Regions from separate parts of the Homo sapiens genome. Here region 1 is linked to region 2. The links are contacts of gene promoters, found by promoter capture Hi-C in human tissues and cell types (Jung and others, 2019). All regions are on one chromosome and are shown on one strand. Each heading gives the region's core, a stretch centred on a gene start or on the middle of the fragment in contact. The rest is flanking DNA. Distances are from core to core; before and after follow the strand shown. Region 1 overlaps WFDC10B (WAP four-disulfide core domain 10B). Region 2 holds the start of KCNS1 (potassium voltage-gated channel modifier subfamily S member 1).

What was found. Contacts are between HindIII fragments. The study calls those that stand out against the background at their distance.
Region 1: a fragment that was not itself captured here is called in contact with the fragment with the promoter of KCNS1 in region 2 in 1 of the 25 tissues and cell types used here (spleen).

The regions. Positions count from the first base shown.
Region 1 is chr20:45,688,576-45,694,079 of GRCh38, forward strand. The region is part of intron 2 of WFDC10B (WAP four-disulfide core domain 10B); the gene reads right to left. Among named protein-coding and RNA genes, the nearest start is that of WFDC13, 11 kb to the right of the region's middle. The HindIII fragment of the contact is 3,126 bases long and covers 2,580-5,504 here.
Region 2 is chr20:45,097,646-45,103,152 of GRCh38, forward strand. It overlaps KCNS1 (potassium voltage-gated channel modifier subfamily S member 1), which reads right to left and starts at 3,482. Exons shown (of 4, transcript NM_001322799.2): 1 at 3,276-3,482; 2 at 1,516-1,594; 3 at 17-1,050. The coding sequence starts at 1,591. The HindIII fragment of the contact is 6,202 bases long and covers 1-5,156 here.

The DNA.
Region 1 (5,504 bases), core at 2,893-5,392, 590 kb after region 2:
ATTTCTCTGATGGCCAGTGATGGTGAGCATTTTTTCATGTGTTTTTTGGCTGCATAAATGTCTTCTTTTGAGAAGTGTCTGTTCATGTCCTTCGCCCACTTTTTGATGGGGTTGTTTGTTTTTTCCTTGTAAATTTGTTAGAGTTCATTGTAGATTCTGGATATTAGCCCTTTGTCAGATGAGTAGGTTGCGAAAATTTTCTCCCATTTTATGGGTTGCCTGTTCTCTGATGGTAGTTTCTTTTGCTATGCAGAAGCTCTTTAGTTTAATTAGATCCCATTTGTCAATTTTGGCTTTTGTTTCCATTGCTTTTGGTGTTTTAGACATGAAGTCCTTGCCCATGCCTATGTCCTGAATGGTAATGCCTAGGTTTTCTTCTAGGGTTTTTATGGTTTTAGGTATAACGTTTAAGTCTTTAATCCATCTTGAATTAATTTTTGTATAAGGTGTAAGGAAGGGATCCAGTTTCAGCTTTCTACATATGGCTAGCCAGTTTTCCCAGCACCATTTATTAAATAGGGAATCCTTTCCCCATTGCTTGTTTTTCTCAGGTTTGTCAAAGATCAGATAGTTGTAGATATGTGGCGTTATTTCTGAGGGCTCTGTTCTGTTCCATTGATCTATATCTCTGTTTTGGTACCAGTACCATGCTGTTTTGGTTACTGTAGCCTTGGAGTATAGTCTGAAGTCAGGTAGTGTGATGCCTCCAGCTTTGTTCTTTTGGCTTAGGATTGACTTGGCGATGTGGGCTCTTTTTTGGTTCCATATGAACTTTAAAGTAGTTTTTTCCAATTCTGTGAAGAAAGTCATTGGTAGCTTGATGGGGATGGCATTGAATCTATAAATTACCTTGGGCAGTATGGCCATTTTCATGATATTGATTCTTCCTAGCCATGAGCATGGAATGTTCTTCCATTTGTTTGTATCCTCTTTTATTTCATTGAGCAGTGGTTTGTAGTTCTCCTTGAAGAGGTCCTTCACGTCCCTTTTAAGTTGGATTCCTAGGTATTTTATTCTCTTTGAAGCAAATGTGAATGGGAGTTCACTCATGATTTGGCTCTCTGTTTGTCTGTTATTGGTGTATAAGAATGCTTGTGATTTTTGAACATTGATTTTCTATCCTGAGACTTTGCTGAAGTTGCTTATCAACTTAAGGAGATTTTGGGCTGAGACAATGGGGTTTTCTAGATATGCAATCATGTCATCTGCAAACAGGGACAATTTGACTTCCTCTTTTCCTAATTGAATACACTTTATTTCCTTCTCCTGCCTAATTGCCCAGGCCAGAACTTCCAACACTATGTTGAATAGGAGTGGTGAGAGAGGGCATCCCTGTCTTGTGCCAGTTTTCAAAGGGAATGCTTCCAGTTTTTGCCCATTCAGTATGATGTTGGCTGTGGGTTTGTCATAGATAGCTCTTATTATTTTGAGATACGTCCCATCAATACCTAATTTATTGAGAGTTTTTAGCATGAAGGTTGTTGAATTTTGTCAAAGGCCTTTTCTGCATCTATTGAGATAATCAGGTGGTTTTGTCTTTGGTTCTGTTTATATGCTGGATTACATTTATTGATTTGCGTATATTGAACCAGCCTTGCATCCCAGGGATGAAGCCCACTTGATCATGGTGGATAAGCTTTTTGATGTGCTGCTGGATTCGGTTTGCTAGTATTTTATTGAGGATTTTTGCATCAATGTTCATCAAGGATATTGGTCTAAAATTCTCTTTTTTGGTTGTGTCTCTGCCCGGCTTTGGTATCAGGATGATGCTGGTCTCATAAAATGAGTTAGGGAGGATTCCCTCTTTTTCTATTGGTTGGAATAGTTTCAGAAGGAATGGTACCAGTTCCTCCTTGTACCTCTGGTAGAATTCGGCTGTGAATCCATCTGGTCCTGGACTCTTTTTGGTTGGTAAGCTATTGATTATTGCCACAATTTCAGCTCCTGTTATTGGTCTATTCAGAGATTCAACTTCTTCCTGGTTTAGTCTTGGGAGAGTGTACGTGTCGAGGAATTTATCCATTTCTTCTAGATTTTCTAGTTTATTTTCGTAGAGGTGTTTGTAGTATTATCTGATGGTAGTTTGTATTTCTGTGGGATCGGTGGTGATACCCCTTTATCATTTTTTATTGCATCTATTTGATTCTTCTCTCTTTTTTTATTAGTCTTGCTAGTGGTCTATCAATTTTGTTGATCCTTTCAAAAAACCAGCTCCTAGATTCATTAAATTTTTGAAGGGTTTTTTGTGTCTCTATTTCCTTCAGTTCTGCTCCGATTTTAGTTATTTCTTGCTTTCTGCTAGCTTTTGAATGTGTTTGCTCTTGCTTTTCTAGTTCTTTTAATTGTGATGTTAGGGTGTCAATTTTGGATCTTTCCTGCTTTCTCTTGTGGGCATTTAGTGTCATAAATTTCCCTCTACACACTGCTTTGAATGTGTCCCAGAGGTTCTAGTATGTTGTGTCTTTGTTCTGATTGGTTTCAAAGAACATCTTTATTTCTGCCTTCATTTCGTTATGTACCCAGTAGTCATTCAGGAGCAGGTTGTTCAGTTTCCATGTAGTTGAGCGGTTTTGAGTGAGTTTCTTAATGCTGAGTTCTAGTTTGATTGCACTGTGATCTGAGAGATAGTTTGTTATAATTTCTGTTCTTTTACATTTGCTAAGGAGAGCTTTACCTCCAACTATGTGGTCAATTTTGGAATAGGTGTGTTGTGGTGCTGAAAAAAAATGTATATTCTGTTGATTTGGGGTGGAGAGTTCTGTAGATGTCTATTAGGTCCGCTTGGTGCAGAGCTGAGTTCAATTCCTGGGTATCCTTGTTGACTTTCTGTCTCGTTGATCTGTCTAATGTTGACAGTGGGGTGTTAAAGTCTCCCATTATTAATGTGTGGGAGTCTAAGTCTCTTTGTAGGTCACTCAGGACTTGCTTTATGAATCTGGGTGCTCCTGTATTGGGCGCATATATATTTAGGATAGTTAGCTCTTCTTGTTGAATTGATCCCTTTACCATTATGTAATGGCCTTCTTTGTCTCTTTTGATCTTTGTTGGTTTAAAGTCTGTTTTATCAGAGACTAGGATTGCAACCCCTGCCTTTTTTTATTTTCCATTTGCTTGGTAGATCTTCCTCCACCCTTTTATTTTGAGCCTATGTGTGTCTCTGCATGTGAGATGGGTGTCCTGAATACAACACACTGATGGGTCTTGACTCTTTATCCAATTTGCCAGTCTGTGTCTTTTAATTGGAGCATTTAGTCCATTACATTTAAAGTTAGTATTGTTATGTGTGAATTTGAACCTGTCATTATGATGTTAGCTGGTTATTTTGCTTGTTAGTTGATGCAGTTTCTTCTTAGTCTCCATGGTCTTTACATTTTGACATGATTTTGCAGTGGCTGGTAACGGTTGTTCCTTTCCATGTTTAGTGCTTCCTTCAGGAGCTCTTTTAGGGCAGGCCTGGTGGTGACAAAATCTCTCAGTATTTGCTTGTCTATAAAGTATTTTATTTCTCCTTCACTTATGAAGCTTAGTTTGGCTGGATATGAAATTCTGGGTTGAAACTCTTTCCTTTAAGGATGTTGAATATTGGTCCCCACTCTCTTCTGGCTTGTAGAGTTTCTGCCGAGAGATCCACTGTTAGTCTGATGGGCTTCCCTTTGTGGGTAACCCGACCTTTCTCTCTGGCTGCCCTTAACATTTTTTCCTTGATTTCAACTTTGGTGAATCTGACAATTATGTGTCTTGGAGTTGCTCTTCTCGAGGAGTATCTTTGTGGCATTCTCTGTATTTCCTGAATCTGAATGTTGGCCTGCCTTGCTAGATTGGGGAAGTTCTCCTGGATAATAACCTGCAGAGTGTTTTCCAACTTGGTTCCATTCTCTCTGTCACTTTCAGGTACACCAATCAGACGTAGATTTGGTCTTTTCACATAGTCCCATATTTCTTGGAGGCTTTGTTCATTTGTTTTTATTCCTTTTTCTCTAAACTTCCCTTCTCGCTTCATTTCATTCGTCTTCCATCACTGATACCCTTTCTTCCAGTTGATCACATTGGCTCCTGAGGCTTCTGCATTCTTCATGTAGTTCTCGAGCCTTGGCTTTCAGCTCCATCAGCTCCTTTAAGCACTTCTCTGTATTGGTTATTCTAGTTATACATTCGTCTAAATTTTTTTCAAAGTTTTTAACTTCTTTGCCTTTGGTTTGAATTTCCTCCTGTAGCTCGTAGTTTGATCGTCTGAAGCCTTCTTCTCTCAACTTGTCAAAGTCATTCTCCGTCCAGCTTTGTTCCATTGCTGGTGAGGAACTGTGTTCCTTTGGAGGAGGAGAGGTGCTGTGCTTTTCAGAGTTTCCAGTTTTTCTGCTCTGTTTTTTCCCCATCTTTGTGGTCTTATCTACTTTTGGTCTTGATGATGGTAATGTAGAGATGGGTTTTTGGTGTGGATGTCCTTTCTGTTTGTTAGTTTTCCTTCTAACAGACAGGACCCTTAGCTGCAGGTCTGTTGGAGTTTGCTAGAGGTCCACTCCAGACCCTGTTTGCCTGGGTATCAGCAGCGGTGTCTGCAGAACAGTGGTTTTTCGTGAACCGCGAATGCTACTGTCTGATCGTTCCTCTGGAAGTTTTGTCTCAGAGGAGTACCCAGCTGTGTGAGGTGTCAGTCTGCCCCTACTGGGGGGTGCCTCCCAGTTAGGCTGCTCAGGAGTCAGGGGTCAGGGACCCACTTGAGGAGGCAGTCTGCCCATTCTCAGATCTCCAGCTGCATGCTGGGAGAACCACTGCTCTCTTCAAAGCTGTCAGACAGGGACATGTAAGTCTGCAGAAGTTACTGCTGTCTTTGTTTGTCTGTGCCCTGCCCCCAGAGGTGGAGCCTACAGAGGCAGGCAGGCCTCCTTGAGCTGTGGTGGGCTCCACCCAGTTGGAGCTTCCCGGCTGCTTTGTTTACCTAAGCAAGCCTGTGCAATGGTGGGCGCCCCTCCCCCAGCCTTGCTGCCGCCTTGCTGTTTGATCTCCGACTGCTGTGCTAGCAATCAGCGAGACTCGGTGGGCATAGGACCCTCCGAGCCAGGTGTGGGATATAATCTCCTGGTGCGCCGTTTTTTAAGCCTGTCGGAAAAGCACAGTATTGGGGTAGGAGTGACCCGATTTTCCAGGTGCCGTCTGTCACCCCTTTCTTTGACTAGGAAAAGGAACTCCCTGACCCCTTGCGCTTCCCGAGTGAGGCAATGCCTCGCACTGCTTCGGCTTGCGCACGGTGCGCTGCACCCACTGACCTGCGCCCACTGTCTGGCACTCCCTAGTGAGATGAACCCGGTACCTCAGATGGAAATGCAGAAATCACCCGTCCTCTTCATCGCTCACGCTAGGAGCTGTAGAACGGAGCTGTTCCTATTCAGCCATCTTGGCTCCTCCTCCTGTTTGTTTTTTCTTATAAATTTAAGTTCCTTGTAGACTCTGGATACTAGACGTTTGTCAGGTGGATAGATTGCAAACATTTTCTCCCATTTTGTAGG
Region 2 (5,507 bases), core at 2,232-4,731:
GCCTCAGAGGCCGTACCTTGAGCGTGGCTCCCAGCGAGCGCAGCCCGGTGGAATGGCGCGCCAACTTGAGTACGCGGAAGATGCGCATGAGGCGGAACACCTGCACCACCTTGCCCAGGTGGCCGAACTCCTTGCCGCCCTGGTCGCCCAGTGCCACACCAGCCAGCAGCGTGAGATAGAAGGGCAGCACAGACACAATGTCGATGAGGTTGAGCGGGTGGCAGAAGAAGTTGCGCGTACTGGGCGCCAGCAGGAGGCGCGACGACACCTCGAAGCTGAACCAGGCGATGCAGAAGTACTCGAGGCGTCGCAGCACCGGGTCGTCGCGCACGCCTTCCGGGCTGCGGCCCGCGGCCACCGCAGCCACGGCGGCCGCCGCCTCGCGGGCCTGGTACTCGGGCAGGCTGTGGATGCACATGGCGGCGATGGAGGCGAGCACCACGCTGATGGAGACGCAGCTGAAGAGCTTGCTCGGCAGCGAGTAGCCCGGGTTCTCCATGGTCAGCCAGAGGCGGCGGCGCAGGCGGCCACAGCGCGCCGCGCCATAGCGCGCCAGTTCTCGCTGCACGTCGGAGATCTCGTCGGGGCACGGGTCCACGCTGCTCGGCGTGTCGCTGTCCTCGTCCCAGGCGTGCGGCTGGGTCAGCCGCCTCTCCAGGTAGCGCGCGCGGCAGCACGCGGCAAGCGCGTTCTCGCCTAGGCCCCAGTAGTCGGCCTCCTGGCCAAAGGCGAAGACGCACAGCTCGTCGAGCACGTGCAGGTGGCCAGTGCGGTAGAAGTGCAGCAGGCTCAGGAAGAAGCCCGGGTGCCGGTCGAAGTAGAATTCGCGCGCCGCCTCGTCGTAGTCGTCGCACAGGCGCCGCGCCTGCTCCTCCGACGCCGCGGCCTGCAGGCGGCCCAGCCGCGTGCCCGGGAAGCGCGCCAGGGCGCGCGCGCTCAGCTGCCGCCGCACGCCACCCACGTTCACGCGCAGCGCCTCGTCGCTTCGCCGCCAGCGGATCCCGGTGTCGGGGCCCGGGAACTCGCTCACAAAGGTTTCAGTGCTCCTCCCTGCGGACACCAGAAGGGCGCGCTGAGGAGTTCCCGGGCTTCCCTTCCTGGAAGACCAGGTTAAAATCCCCTCCTCCATCCAACCAGCCAAGGGGTGTTGGAGGCTGTGTGTGAAGCATCTGGTATGCAGGAGGCGCTCAGTAGATGTCAGGTGCCCTCTGGACTCAGAGTCAGGCCTGGCTTTGACTATCCTTCATCCCCATCATTTGACTTTGGCCAAATCACTGACCCACCCCACCCCCATTTCATTTTTCTCCTTTGGAAAGTAAATGCTGAGATCTACCTGGAAGGATATGAAAGCGATGGAATCGCAGGATGTCCTGGCACCTAGTGGGTGCTCACATAGGATGTCTCCTTTTCCAGGACAAACTTGGATTTATTTACACCAAAGGTCTACTGTGGGATCTTGGGCCCGCCAGCCCTCTGAACCTGTTTCTTCTGCAAAATGAGGATAGTAACACTTACCTCCTAGGGGTGTTGGCAGCACCACTTTAGACCGGAGGTTCTCATAGTGTGTTCCCCGGACCAGCAGCATCAGCATCACCTGGGAATTTGTCAAAGATGCAAATTCTCAGCCTGCCATCGATTTACTGAATCGGGAACTCTAAGGGTGGGGTCTAGCACTTTGTGTTCTAACAAGATTGGAAAGTGATTCGGCTACATAGTCAAGTTTGAGAGCTCCTGCTTTAGATTATGTAAAGCATCTGTAGAGTCAGCCAGACCTGACCTTGAATCTTGACTCTCTTGTGTCACCTTAGGCAAGTAACATCACCTCTCTGAGCCTCTGTGAAATGGAAATAAAAATATTCACCTCAAAGTGTGGTTATGAAGATTAAATGACCTAGTGTCTTTCTTGGGCTTGGCTCACAGAAGGAATTTAATAAATTATTCACTGGTGTCACTATCTTCTGGAGTCAGGCAAACCTGGGTTTATCTCCACCCCTGACGCACCTGGGGCCTTGAGGAAGCTATTTGTCCTCCAGGTCTCAATTTCCTGCACAACGTAGATAATAGCACCTACCTCCAGGGATGACTGGAGGATTAAGGTAGATTATAGAAAGTGCTCAGCCTTAGTGGATACTCAGGAAGGATTTAGGTTCTTCCACTACCCACTGACTCCTGACTCTGCTGGAATTGGGGGCTAGTGACACCTCCTCACCACTGGCAATCTCATTTGCACTGTGGGTTCAGTAATGCCTAGACTAGGGATTAAGTGTGTGTAAAGCACCTGGGCTTGGCATTAAATGGATTTGGGGTTCCACCCTTAGCTCTATCACTTGTGTGACCTCAGGCCAGTCTCCTTCCCACTCTGGGCTTTAGCTCTTTTACCTCTAGAATGGGGATAATGTTGCTTTGGATGCATCATTATTGTGGTATATGTCAAAGCCCTGGGAAAACAGTAGATGCTCAATAAATGTTAATCCTGTGTACTTCCCTGTGGTCAGACCTGAGTCTACCACTTACTAGCTGCTGTCCTTGAGTGCATTCGTCGCCCTCTCTGGGCTTGTTTCCCTGTCTGTGGAACCGGGTAGCATCATACTTTCCAGGAGAGGCTCAGAGAATTAAATGATGCAAGGTGTTTATCGGCAGCATGGTCCCTGGCACATAATCAATGCACAATAAACGTGTGATGTAGCTCCGCTCCCACCTCCACTTGGATCTCCACCTGCATTTGGCATCAAAAAATGAAATTTCTAATCCAGTTCCATCACCCATTAGAAGCATAATATTGGGCAAATCCCTTCATCCATCAGGAGCTCACTTTCCTGCTCTATGAAACAGGATAATTAATTCAACAAACATTTTCTGACAAGAACCTGAATATCAGTAAGAAAGACCAAGTGACTTGTTCAAAATCACCCAGCTAGTCCATGGCACAGCTAAGGTTGGAGACCAGGTTTTTTTATTTCATTCTCTCTCCACACACTTATTTTGAGCACCTCCTATCTGCTAGTCACTCCTCTGGGCTCCATGCACACCTCACTCGGTTTAATCCCTACACCAACCCTGCCAGGGAGGTTTTCTAATCCCATTTTACAGATGAGCAAACTGTACCAGCCAGGGTCTCCAAAGCGCGGCCACCCCACACTGCTTCCTCCTTGGCGGGGGGTGGGGGGTCTCTTAGAGGGGGTAAGAGCACCAGGAGCCCCAGGCAGCCCCGCCTCCCACTCTGGCTGCCCGGGACCGTCCCGGAGCCACGTCCCTCCCCAAAGGAGGCCCCTTACCTGTGGTGGCACCTCCCGGGCGCCTCGCGTGTCTGTCCCAAAGCCACCGAGGCTGGGAGCCGCTGGCTATACTCGGTCTCGCCTCTGCCCCGCCGGCCCCGCCGAGCCTCCTGCTGCAGGCGGCCCCGCTGCCCTCTCCTTCCTTCTTCCTTGCCTAGTCCCCCGCGGCTGAAGGCCGCATCGATCGCTGCCGGAGGAGGGAGTGAGGCCGCTGGCGGCCGGAGGCGGCGGTTTCTATTCCTGACTCGGCTGGGGGGTGGTGGTGTCTGGAGACTGGGCCTACCTGCAGGGGCATCCTCCGGAGTTACGGGCCGGGAAGGAGGGGTCATTTAGGGCGTGAGGATTCCCCGTAGAGAGGGATTTCAGCAGAAGCTTCTCTGGCAAAGGAACAACAGTAATCATGATTTACTTAATTGAGTGTTTAGTATGTGCCAGGGTACTTCAGCTGCTGCAAGTGATTGATCTCAGTTATTCCTGGCACACACACTTGACAGGGCCAGGATCTTATGTCGCCCATTTTAGGGGTGAGCTCCAGTCATTTTCTCAGACCGTGGGCATCTGAGTTAGGGAGCTGTAGAAGGTGGCCTCATCTCCCTTGGAGCCCCAGGTTCTTCCTAGGTGAGTTGTGAAGCTTGAAACGATCATTTTACCCCTGAGGCGCAGTGTCCTTACCTGCCCACGGGTTCCTGATTCCCACCTGCCAAGTGGGTTGTGAGGGCAGAGAACATGTGCCAAAGAGCTTTGTAGAGGTTGTGAAATCCCCACACATGTACCTGTTGTGTGGCTGCTGTGTGCCTGGTTGGGGAGAGGCTCCTGGAGACTAGGGCCTGGATATGAGCCTTTGCACATATTGTTATTAATAATAATGATAATTACCAACGTTTATTGAGTACTTACCTTGGGTCAAGCACAGACCTCAATCTCACTCAAACTGCAAATTTATCTGTGGGGTAAGTGCTACTATTATTCCTATCTCACAGATAAGAACTGCTTTGAGAGGTGTGGTGACTTGCCGGAGGTCCCATGGCTGACTTCTGAGTCCTCTAGGCCAGCACAGTCCAACACCTATAATGTGAGCCACATATATAATTTTATTTTATTTTATTTTTGATTTTTTGAGATAGAGTCTCACTCACTCTGTTGCAGGCTGGAGTGCAGTGGCACAATCTTGGCTCACTGCAACCTCCGCCTCCTGGGTTCAAGCGATTCTCCTGCCTCAGCCTCCTGAGTAGCTGGGATTACAGGCATGCACCACCATGCCCAGCTAATTTTTGTATTTTTAGTACAGAAGGGGTTTCACCATGTTGGCCAGGCTGGTCTTGAACTCCTGGCCTCAAATGATCCACCTGCCTTGGCCTCACAAAATGCTGAGATTACAGGCATGAGCCACCGCGTCCGGCCCACATATGTCCTTTTACATTTCTGATTGCAACATTTTAAAGAAGTAAAAAACAGGCGAAATTACAGTTACCCCTTAAACAGTGGGGGTTAGGGAAACCACTCCTCCATGCCTAGAAAATTAGAATATAACTTTTGACTCCCCTGAAACTTAACTAGTAATAACTTACTGTTCGCCAGAAACCTTACCAATAATATAAACAGTCGATTGACACATAAATAGTATCTACATATATCTTAGGCATTCACGACATATCTAACTTATTCTTAAGGCTTTTGATATTTCTAGTCTACATGGTTCATCTGTAAGTTTTTTCAAATTGTCACAAATCTCCAAAAATTTTCCAATGTATTTATTGGAAAAAAATCTGCATGTAAGTGGACACTAGCAGTTCAAACTCGTGTTGTTTCAGGATCAACTGTATTTTTAGTGATATATTTTATTAAATCTAAAATATTATGATTTCAACATTGGAATCAGTAAAGAAATTATTGAGATATTTTACATTTTCTTTTTTTTGTACTAAGTCTCTAAAATCCAGTACTAATTTTTCTTATTGCTACATAACAAATTACCACAATTTAGTAGCTTAAAACAATACAAATTTATGATCTCATGGTTTCTGTAGGTCAGAAGTCTGGGCATGGCCTGGCTGGACCCTCAGGGTCTCACCAGGTTGAAGCCAAGGTGTTGGCCAGGGTTGAGGTTCTCATGTGAGCTTCAGAGTTTTCTTCCAAGCTCACAGATTGTTGGCAGAATTCATTTCCTTGTGGTTATAGGACTGAGGTCTCTCTTTTCCTGTTAGCTGTCTCCGAGGGATCAATCTCAGATTC